2 separate regions of the Homo sapiens genome follow, and region 2 is linked to region 1. The links are contacts of gene promoters, found by promoter capture Hi-C in human tissues and cell types (Jung and others, 2019). All regions are on one chromosome and are shown on one strand. Each heading gives the region's core, a stretch centred on a gene start or on the middle of the fragment in contact. The rest is flanking DNA. Distances are from core to core; before and after follow the strand shown.

The links. The method cuts DNA at HindIII sites, captures the fragments that hold promoters and counts their contacts. A contact is called where the count stands out against the background at its distance.
Region 2: a contact is called between a fragment that was not itself captured here and the fragment with the promoter of RBP1 in region 1, in 1 of the 25 tissues and cell types used here (H1 embryonic stem cells).

What each region holds. Positions count from the first base shown.
Region 1 is chr3:139,536,858-139,541,645 of GRCh38, reverse strand. RBP1 (retinol binding protein 1) reads left to right here and starts at 1,904. Exons shown (of 4, transcript NM_002899.5): 1 at 1,904-2,186; 2 at 2,687-2,865. The coding sequence starts at 1,928. All of the region lies in intron 3 of COPB2-DT (COPB2 divergent transcript), which reads right to left. RefSeq lists an enhancer at 2,829-4,028. The HindIII fragment of the contact is 8,428 bases long and covers 1-4,788 here.
Region 2 is chr3:139,391,679-139,396,466 of GRCh38, reverse strand. The region is part of intron 1 of COPB2-DT (COPB2 divergent transcript); the gene reads right to left. Among named protein-coding and RNA genes, the nearest start is that of COPB2-DT, 4.3 kb to the right of the region's middle. The HindIII fragment of the contact is 3,330 bases long and covers 704-4,033 here.

The DNA.
Region 1 (4,788 bases), core at 655-3,154:
TGGAAGTGACCAAGGAATGGCCAGTTCACTGCTTAAGCCTTTGACCAATGCTCCATTCTGGTAAGTCAGGATAACAAGAAAGCCCAAAGCATGGCTGGCCCTGGTGGGATGCCTTACAGAACCTGGGCCAGGCCCCATCCATCCTTGCGAGGTGTCTTATTGCACCTTCAGGTTGGAAGGACTGGGATAGGTTGCCCTGAGTGCCCAGCCAAGATGAGCCCTGGGCTGGCTAGGGAGGGACACAGAGCCAGTGCTTGTGTGAACAACTGATGACCTAACCATCCAGAGCCAGACAAAGAAGCAGTGGGAAACAAGGGCCTAGAGCTGGCTCTCAACCAGGGCTGGTTTACCCAGCACCCACACCCCAGTGCCTTTGACAATGTCTGGCGACATCTTTGTGTCTGGGTGCCACTGGGATCTAATGGGTAGAGGCCAGGGATGCCACTAAATATCCTACAGTACACAGGACAGGCTCCTGTAACAAAGACTTATGTGGCCTAGAATGTCAGTAGCACAGAGATTAAGAAACAAATCCTAGTCTAGGGAAAGAGGGTGAGAAGCGCTGAAATCCAAGTTGCTGCCTGGGAGGAAGCTGTCTCTACCCTGAGGAAGAGGCTCCTTTTCCTAATTCAGCCTGCACTGTGAGAACACATGTGAGCCCCAGGGAGGCACCCTGGGGAAGGTGGTGCTAGAGGGGAAGAAAATGTTATCTGCTGTCACTTAGGCTGTGATTTGTGCAAAAAGCGATTTAAAAGAGGTAGTCAAAAAGAGGGTCAAAAAGTCAGCCCATGTGATTATGTCATCTACTTGGTGGCAAATGCAGTTAAACCACAATGACATACCCACGCAGGTGACAAAGGAGATGTGATCAAAGATTTTCATTGCAGTACTGCTTTTAATAGTGAAAGATCAGAAACAATATAGTTTGTCCATCAGGGGACAAGCTGGATAAGCAATGGAATACTCCGTAAAATAATGGGGATACTTTCTATGTACAGCTATGGAAAAGTCTCCAGAATATATTAAGTGAATAAAGCAAAGTCCAGAACACCGTGGAGTACAGTGCTGCCATTAGGTGAAACGGGAGGAAACATTAATAAACAGTATATTGCTTACATTTGCATAAAGCAGCAGTGGATCTCAAAGTTGATTGTGCATCAGAATCACCCAGAAGGCTTTTTTAGCCACATGCACTTCAAATAACATCAACTATTTTACTTATTTATTTATTTATTTATTGAGCCAGAGTCTCACTCTGTCGCCCAGGCTGGAGTGTAGTGGCACGATCTCGGCTCACTACAACCTCCTCCTCCCGGGTTCAAGCTATTCTCCTGCCTCAGCCTCCCGAGTAGTTGGGACTACAGGCGCCCGCGACCACGCCCGGCTAATTTTTTGTATTTTTAGTAGAGACGAGGTTTTACCGTGTTGCCCAGGCTGGTGTCGAATTCCTGACCTCAGGTGATCCGCCCGCCTCGGCCTCCCAAAGTGCTGGGATTACAGGCGTGAGCCGCCGTGCCCGGCATCCTTTCTTTTATTTTCGGGAGAGACGTGGAAAGTGCCCCAATTTTCTCGCCCGTAGTTGAACCTCCCAGCTTTCCTGACCCCAGCCACCACCGGCGCGAGGCTTTAGACAAAGGCCTGTAAGTGGCCTCTTTCCTTAATCACGCCAGCACAAACCCCAGGAGATTGTTTCCCAACTCCCGAGTGGCTGCTGAGTGTGAGAAGTTAATGGCGTTTGAAGGAAATCCCCAGCAGCCGAAGAGTTCGGCCAACAAAGCAAACGTCCCGTCTCCGGTCTCCTCTTCCTTTGTAGGGGAAACGAACTGAACGTCTGAAACGAAGGTGGCGCGGCCTGGACAAACCTGACCCTTCGACATCCCCCGCCCCTGCGCCCGCCCTCGCTAAGCGGGGAGGAGCGACCGCTACAATGGATCCTCCCGCAGGCTTTGTGCGCGCTGGGAATCCAGCTGTCGCCGCCCCGCAGAGCCCCCTGTCCCCGGAGGGCGCTCATTTCCGGGCCGCCCACCACCCGCGTAGCACCGGCAGCCGCTGTCCCGGCAGTCTCCAGCCGTCCCGCCCGCTTGTGGCCAACTGGCTCCAGTCACTCCCCGAAATGCCAGTCGACTTCACTGGGTACTGGAAGATGTTGGTCAACGAGAATTTCGAGGAGTACCTGCGCGCCCTCGGTAAGCGCTGCCCGCTGCGCCCTGGGCGCCCCGCCGAGCAGCTCCGGGCCGCTCCCTAGAGCCCTCCCGAGACGCTGCCTGCCTGCCTCCATCCCGGCGAGCCGCGGTCCGGTGCCCCCGGACGCCAGAAAGGGCGTCCTCGGCCACCGCTCCCAGGGCAGCCCCCAGGCTGCAGATTGGAGAATTCGGGGTTGTTAGGTTAACCGGTGGCAAATGTCTGCTCGTTGGCCCTGGAGGTGGGTAATTTCATTAGTAAATCTGGGGCTTGGTTTGCTACTTTTTGTTTTTAAACGGTTAACATAAGAGCAGAAAACTTTGTTGGGGGCGGCAGGGGAGGCACAGGCAGGCTGTGCGCAGAGACAACGCAAAGCCAGCGGGAACCCTAACAGTGTTCGCGGGCGGAGAGGGCTCCTGGGGCCCCGCTACCTTGGGAACGGTTCTCTGAGTTTCCCTGCCAACTCTCTGGCGCTCTCTCTCTCCCCGTTCAACCCCCACCGCAGACGTCAATGTGGCCTTGCGCAAAATCGCCAACTTGCTGAAGCCAGACAAAGAGATCGTGCAGGACGGTGACCATATGATCATCCGCACGCTGAGCACTTTTAGGAACTACATCATGGACTTCCAGGTTGGGAAGGAGTTTGAGGAGGATCTGACAGGCATAGATGACCGCAAGTGCATGGTGAGGATTCGCGTCCACCTGGTGTCTCCTGCCCAGGGGGCCTGACCAAGGGCTGGGCTAGTTCATCCGAGAGGGGGCAAGGGCCTGAGGGACTGAAAACTCTTCCCACTCTCAGCCCCCATGGTGGGCAGCACCAACTCATGAAGCATCCTGCTCTATCTACACTGGAAGGTGATGGTTATGAAGGCTGCCATGTGCTGTGTCTCCACTGCGTTCAGGCACTCTGCCCGGTGCTTTATGCACATGACTTCACCTAAGCCTCACACAGCCTTTGAGGGAGATATGAATATGCCCATTTTACAGATGAAGAAACAGTCTCAAAGAGATGAAGTAACATGTCCAGAGTAGCACAGCTAGGGAGGGTCTGGAGTTCAAAGCATGTCTGTTGATGCCGTTCTCTGGCTGACTGGGCTGGTGGAGGGTAAAAGAAAAGAAAGGAGGAAAGAAAAAAGAAACACAGGTAACCCCTTTGAAGTGTAAACTTTCAGTATGACTTAGTGTGAAGTCACTCCAGGAAGCTGGGGGCCCCTTGATCTCTGCTGGAAGCCCCCTGATCTGCCCATCCTTGCCCCAGAGCTGGGATTTGGCTCCTGGCCATCCCCTGCCCCACCCTGTCATCCAATGCCTACTGAGCATTCTTTGAACTTTGCAGCTGACACCTATTCAGTAAGTCAGGGCCCCTCCAGCCCAGACCAGAGGAAACAGCAGTGGGGGAAGAGGGAGGGCCAAGAGCTCCCTTCCACAAGGGTGGGAAACTCCTGACCCAGGACATCCCAATTAGTACTGCCACAGCAGATGCCGGAAGGCCAGCCCCAGGCCTCCATCAACATTATCTGGTTGCTGGGAGGTCAAGGTACTCTTGTTCTCCCTTTATAGTCTTGGGTTCAGAAGTGGCTTATGTTCATCCCAGGAGCCACCTTGCTTATTGATGGGGTCCTCACCCACCACCTCCCACCATTTACCAAGGGTCTTTACCGCTGGTCTGCTGTGTGTCCAGCACTGTGCTAGTCATCTTACAGCACAGCACAGTGAGGGAGGGATAAGTAACCCCATGTTATGCAGTGACTGAGGCTCAGACAGAGGAAGAGACTTGTAAGAGATGAGACTTGAGCCCTGGGCCTTCTGATGTTGAAGCCCACAGTCCTGCTTTCTGCCAGCTTCTCTGCTGGTAGTCTGTGCAGAAACAAGATAGCTGAGGTCTGTTAGGATTGTAGTTGAAGGGATGCCCATGTCTGGGAATAGGCATCTGGAGCCTGGATGACTCATCCCCCCACCTTGTCTATTCATCTGAAGGCAGTCAGGATTGGTATCTGAGTCTGCTGTTTGGAATGATGGGAAAGAGGGGGTAGTCAGCAGGGAGTGGCCTTGGAAGGACCACTAATGGGAGAAAACACCATTGTTGCAGAGAAATGTCAGGTTGTGCCTTTAAAAATCTCAAGGACTCTTAATCTGCAGGAAAGACTCACAATAGGAAAGGAGACCTTCAGATGGCATCTGCCTTTCTCATTACTGCCCAAGACCTGCTCCCCGGCACACTGCATGGAACTTTGCTCCTTAAGAATAATCCTTACCCCCACTCACTATTGTGGAACTCACAGATCACATCGAACCTTTATTTTGGGTCACCACAAATCTGGCATGTGCTGGCTTGTACTAATTATCTTCACTCTTTCCTTCCTTTCTTCATCCATTAACACATGAAACATTTATTGATCACCTAGTAATACTAGCAAATGCAGTACTCATCAAGTGCTTACTGTCATGCCAGATGCTATTCAAACGTTACATTAGCTGACTTAATCTTCACAACACCCTTTCAAGCCTCATTTTACAGATAAGAAAACCACTGCAGGATTTCTTGCTGTGTGACCTTGGGGAAGTGCAGAGGGAGGATTTTAGTTAACCACTGCCCTGAACATACTG
Region 2 (4,788 bases), core at 1,119-3,618, 150 kb after region 1:
TTGCTTAAAATAACTTTGTTTCTGGCTGGACATGGTGGCTCACGCCTTTAATCTCAGCACTTTGGGAGGCTGAGGTGGGCGGATCACAAGGTCAGGAGTTCGAGAGCAGCCTGGCCAATATGGTGAATCCCCGTCTCTACTAAAAATACAAAAAAAAAAAAAAAAAACAAGCCAGGCATGGAGGCACACGCCTGCAGAACCAGCTACTCGGGAGGCTGAGGGAGGAGAATTGCTTGAACCTGGGAGGCAGAGGTTGTAGTGAGCCAAGATCGCGCCACTGCACTCCAGCCTGAGTGATAGAGCGAGACTTCATCTCAAAAAATAAATAACTTTGTTTTTTTATTACACACTATATAATAGAAAAATAGAAAATACAAATAAAATCACTTATAATCTTCTACTTCTTTCAGATATTGACTTTATTTATGTCTATTCGTCTATCTATATGTATGTATATAAAGTGAATGTTACACTTTATATATAAACCCTTTTAGGATAAAGTTATATCTATATTCATTGTCAGTGTCAGATGCACCAAAGTATGGCCATATTTAGCTAAAGAAACAATTTCTTCTTCCTAGAGACAATAGCTTTATTTGGATTTTAGTGACTATATCAAACACTATCAATGTGAAGTTGCTTTGACATCAAATGAAAAATCCTGTCGTAGTGCTACTCAATATGTTTTGGATGATCATCTTCAGATACAAAAGCATATCATGAGTTCAGAACCCCAGGAATTCATTTTTAAACCTTGGGACTTGGAGTACATTTGAATTCAAATTCAGTAATGCCCTTAGATCAACTTGAACTGACAAATGCTTCAGAAGAAAGAGGAATAAAGCAATTTGATGAAAATCACACTGTGCAGTGCCTTGTCACTCCAGATATTTCACTTTTACATTAAATTTTTTTTCAATTAATTTAAAGGTAACTGCTATATGCCAGATATTCAGGCTATTCATCATTATTATTCATTTATTTATATGCAGCACTGTCATTTCCAAGGACATAATTCTTAATGAAACATAATTACTCTAAACCTATCTACTTGCTTATATAAAACTTTGTGAAATCTTTTTCCTAGAAAGAAAGTTAAACATTGGTTGAGAGAATGTTCACCTGGGACCTCTACATACCAGGCACACTTGGCCTGTATTCCTTGTCCCCTCATGCCTACCAGCCTCCTTGTCCTGAGCCCCAGGAGCCTCAGGTTTGTAGAGCATTGTTCCAAGCACAACAAAATCTCAACAAAAATTTGCTGATGGAAGGTGGCTTCCAGAGAAAAAGAACAATGCATGCTATGAAAGATGTGGGAAACGCTACTACACTGGCACTTGAATTAAGTAAAGACAAATGCCCATTAAAACACCCTGCAGGCACTCCCCTCATCCACTTCGTTTGACAAGAACATAGAATCACAGACTCAAAAGTATAAAAAAGCTTACAACAGGAAGAGACTTTGGAGCTAATGCTGTCCATTATTATTTTGTAGGTAATAAAACTAAGACCCAGAGATTCACTTCACTTGACAACCCTGGGGCAAAGAAGTACCCAGAGCCCACTGGTCATGACTTACCATGGGGTCTGTACCCCATGAGTGAAGAGTGGGGTAGAGAACGAATCCGCAGATGGAGAACTGTGGAGATCACTAACAAACTCCCCAGTCTACTGCCATATTTACAATGTCTAGCAATTCCCATCTATGAAATCACCTCCTTTGTTTCATTCAAAGCTCACTTTAAACTTTGACTCCTCTAAAAATACTCATTAGAAAAACATAAGGTTAATGTAATTTTTAAGGTAAAATTAACACAAGTCAAACACATTACTAATAATCTGGATTTTTACACTTTCAGGTAAACAAAAGTTAGCATCCTCTGCATCTGGAATTCTACATCAAACTCCCATGGAGTAAATTTAACAAATTTAAAATGTTTAGAAGGTAGTCACATGAAGTGTACAGCACATTGTGGTTGGTCAATGCTTTTGCAATCAGTCCAACATTTGCCTCTAAGTGTTGGGCAACCACAAACTCCATTTTTCTTGGAAGACAGTTCAGTGGATCTCCAACTCAATTTAGTCTGCTGCTGGCTGCTACTTGACTATGTGGTCAAAACTTTTGCTTTCATTCACCTCATACAGAAATCAGGCTGATAATCTTAACATTTCCTCTAACAGGAAAAGTAACTGACATGTGATGATGTATCAGTAATGGAGCATGAAGATTACCCTACTTAACATTCTTAAATGGTTCCCCAGAGCCTACAGGATAAAGTCCAGACTCCTTTAACTGGCTATCATGGATCTTCAGAATCTGAATCTCATTTATCTTTCTAATACCATTTCTCAATCCTCCCCCTTCTTACTCTCTGGCCCAGGCATGCTGAACTATTCTTAGCTCTCTGGAAAAGTCAAATGCTCTAGATATACTCTCTTGACATTTACCTGGCTAGTTCCTACTCACACTACAAAGGTCCATTTAGTGGCCTGCATCCATTTGGAGCCTATCATAATTAAATCAAGCATGCCCTAAATGCAGGAACAGTCAACCCACTTACAGTGAGACACCTCTCACATCAACATTTGCCTTTCTTCACTAATCGCTTGGTAAAATAGTTTATACTGATGACCTCTACTTTTTTTATCATCCAATAATTTCTAAACCCTTTGTAAACTTGCCTTCCCTACCATTACTCAACTTTTTTGAAGGCTGATAGTGTCCTCATAATCATTTATTTCATTGGCAATAGTTTTGGCAAATACTAAGCCTCCTTAAATTCTCTAAAGCTATCAAGATGCTAGTCACCCAGTCACATTTTCCCTTTCTTTTCCTTCTGTGACATAAAGTTATTCTGGGTCTCTTATTCTGATTGTTCCTACACTGACTCCACTTCTTTTTCTTTCACTTTTTCTTCTTTCCTGATTCTCTTTCTCTGATTGTTCCTTCATTGGCTCCACTATCATTCACTGGCTCCACATCTTCCTCTGATTAAAGATATTCTTCTGGGTTCATTAGATTAAAAACATCAGCAATAGGATGCCTCCCACTCCCTCAATTCAACAAACGCATTTGTGTATCCAGTTGATTCTAGCTTCTCAGGGAAAAAAGGAGAAATTACAATCCAGTAAAAAAAGATGTTAGTATCATTAAATATAACTTAGGTTCATATCTCAGGTCTGTCAGTCATGAGCAATGTGGCATGAGGTATACTACTTAATCAATTTAAGCCTCTGTTTTTCATCTATAAATTGGAGAAAATAATGCCTATCTTTTAGTATTACTTTATGAATTGCAGTATGCAAAGTACATATTCCAATGGCAGGTAGGTACATAGTGGGCATTTAATAAAAATTTTTCCTTATTACTGTTATTTCCACACTCACTTCCACCAAACTTATATAGTCTGTTTCAACTTCTTTTAGTGTGTCATACACATCAACAAAAGACAAATCATCTAGAGTACAGATATAAACAGGTTTCCTATCTGGCCCAGTAAGTCCCAACTGCTTGACTCAAAGCTCAATTTCTCCCGATTTAAAAATCTTCAGGTTCTAGCCCCAAGCTTCCTCTTCAACCTTCTCCCTCACTGCTCTTCTAAATGAATACCATTCTCCAAACAAATTGGACCTTTTTTGGTTCTCAAACATGCCGTATACTCTTCACCTCAAAGTCCACCTCAGATTCTACCTCCTTTATGAAACTTATCTCCCTAGCTGGATATTTTATCTTCAGAGTATTTTACTGGTACTTCTCTCAGAAGGTACTCATATTCTGCCTGGTATTCAATTATTTGTGCATAAATAACCTTTCCTGCTTATAAATTGTAACCCCTTTGAAGGGAGAAACTAGGTTCCTATTCGTGCTAGTACTTACCACTTAGCTAAGTGATAACACATGTATATTTAAAAATAATAAACAAGGCTGGGTGTGGTGGCTCAAGCCTGTAATCCCAGCACTTTGGGAGGCAACGCAGGCAGATCACCTGGGGTCAGGAGTTCAAGATCAGCCTGGCCAACATGGTGAAATCCCATCTCTTCTAAAACTACAAAAATCAGCCAGGCGTGGTGGCGTGCACCCGTAGTCCCAGCTACTGGGGAGACTGAGGCAGGGGAATCGCTTGAACCCGGGAGGTGGAGGTTGCAGTGAGCTGAGATGGCGCCACTGCACTCCAGCCTGGGTGACAATGTGAGACACCATCTCAAGATAAATAAATAAATACAAATAAAATAAAATAATAAACAAAAAACCCTGACTCTTTCTCAACGAATTATTTTCCTCAACTTCTTATGAAGAGGTAGGAATAGGGTGGGAAGGGAACAGTGTATATAGGGTACTTACAGAGGCACTGCAACCTGAATTCCCACTTGGAATTCTCCCAGCTGCTGCAAAAAGGCAGGGCTGAAATAGCTATTATAGAAATTGACTAGGTAAGACTTTAAGATCTGTTAATCGATTGCAGTCAACCTCTTGGGAAACCCTTTACCAATCTGCTAAGCTTGTCTATATTTCTTTTCTTCCCAACGGTTATTTTTCCTAACCTTCCAGTCTCCTCTAAACCAAGTAAACAAAAGATTTTAATTTAAACCCACAGTCGAACGCCTAGTGAAATACACGTGTATATTTAATGTTATGTATTAGTTCCTATTTAAGAATTTTATTTCTTTAAAATTTATTTCAACCAAAATCCAACACCAAATTCTATGGGTAATATCTTAAGGCAGCACCTAGTATAGTGCTTTGTATATAGTACACATTCAGTATGTAATGGTTAAAAGAGTGAATTT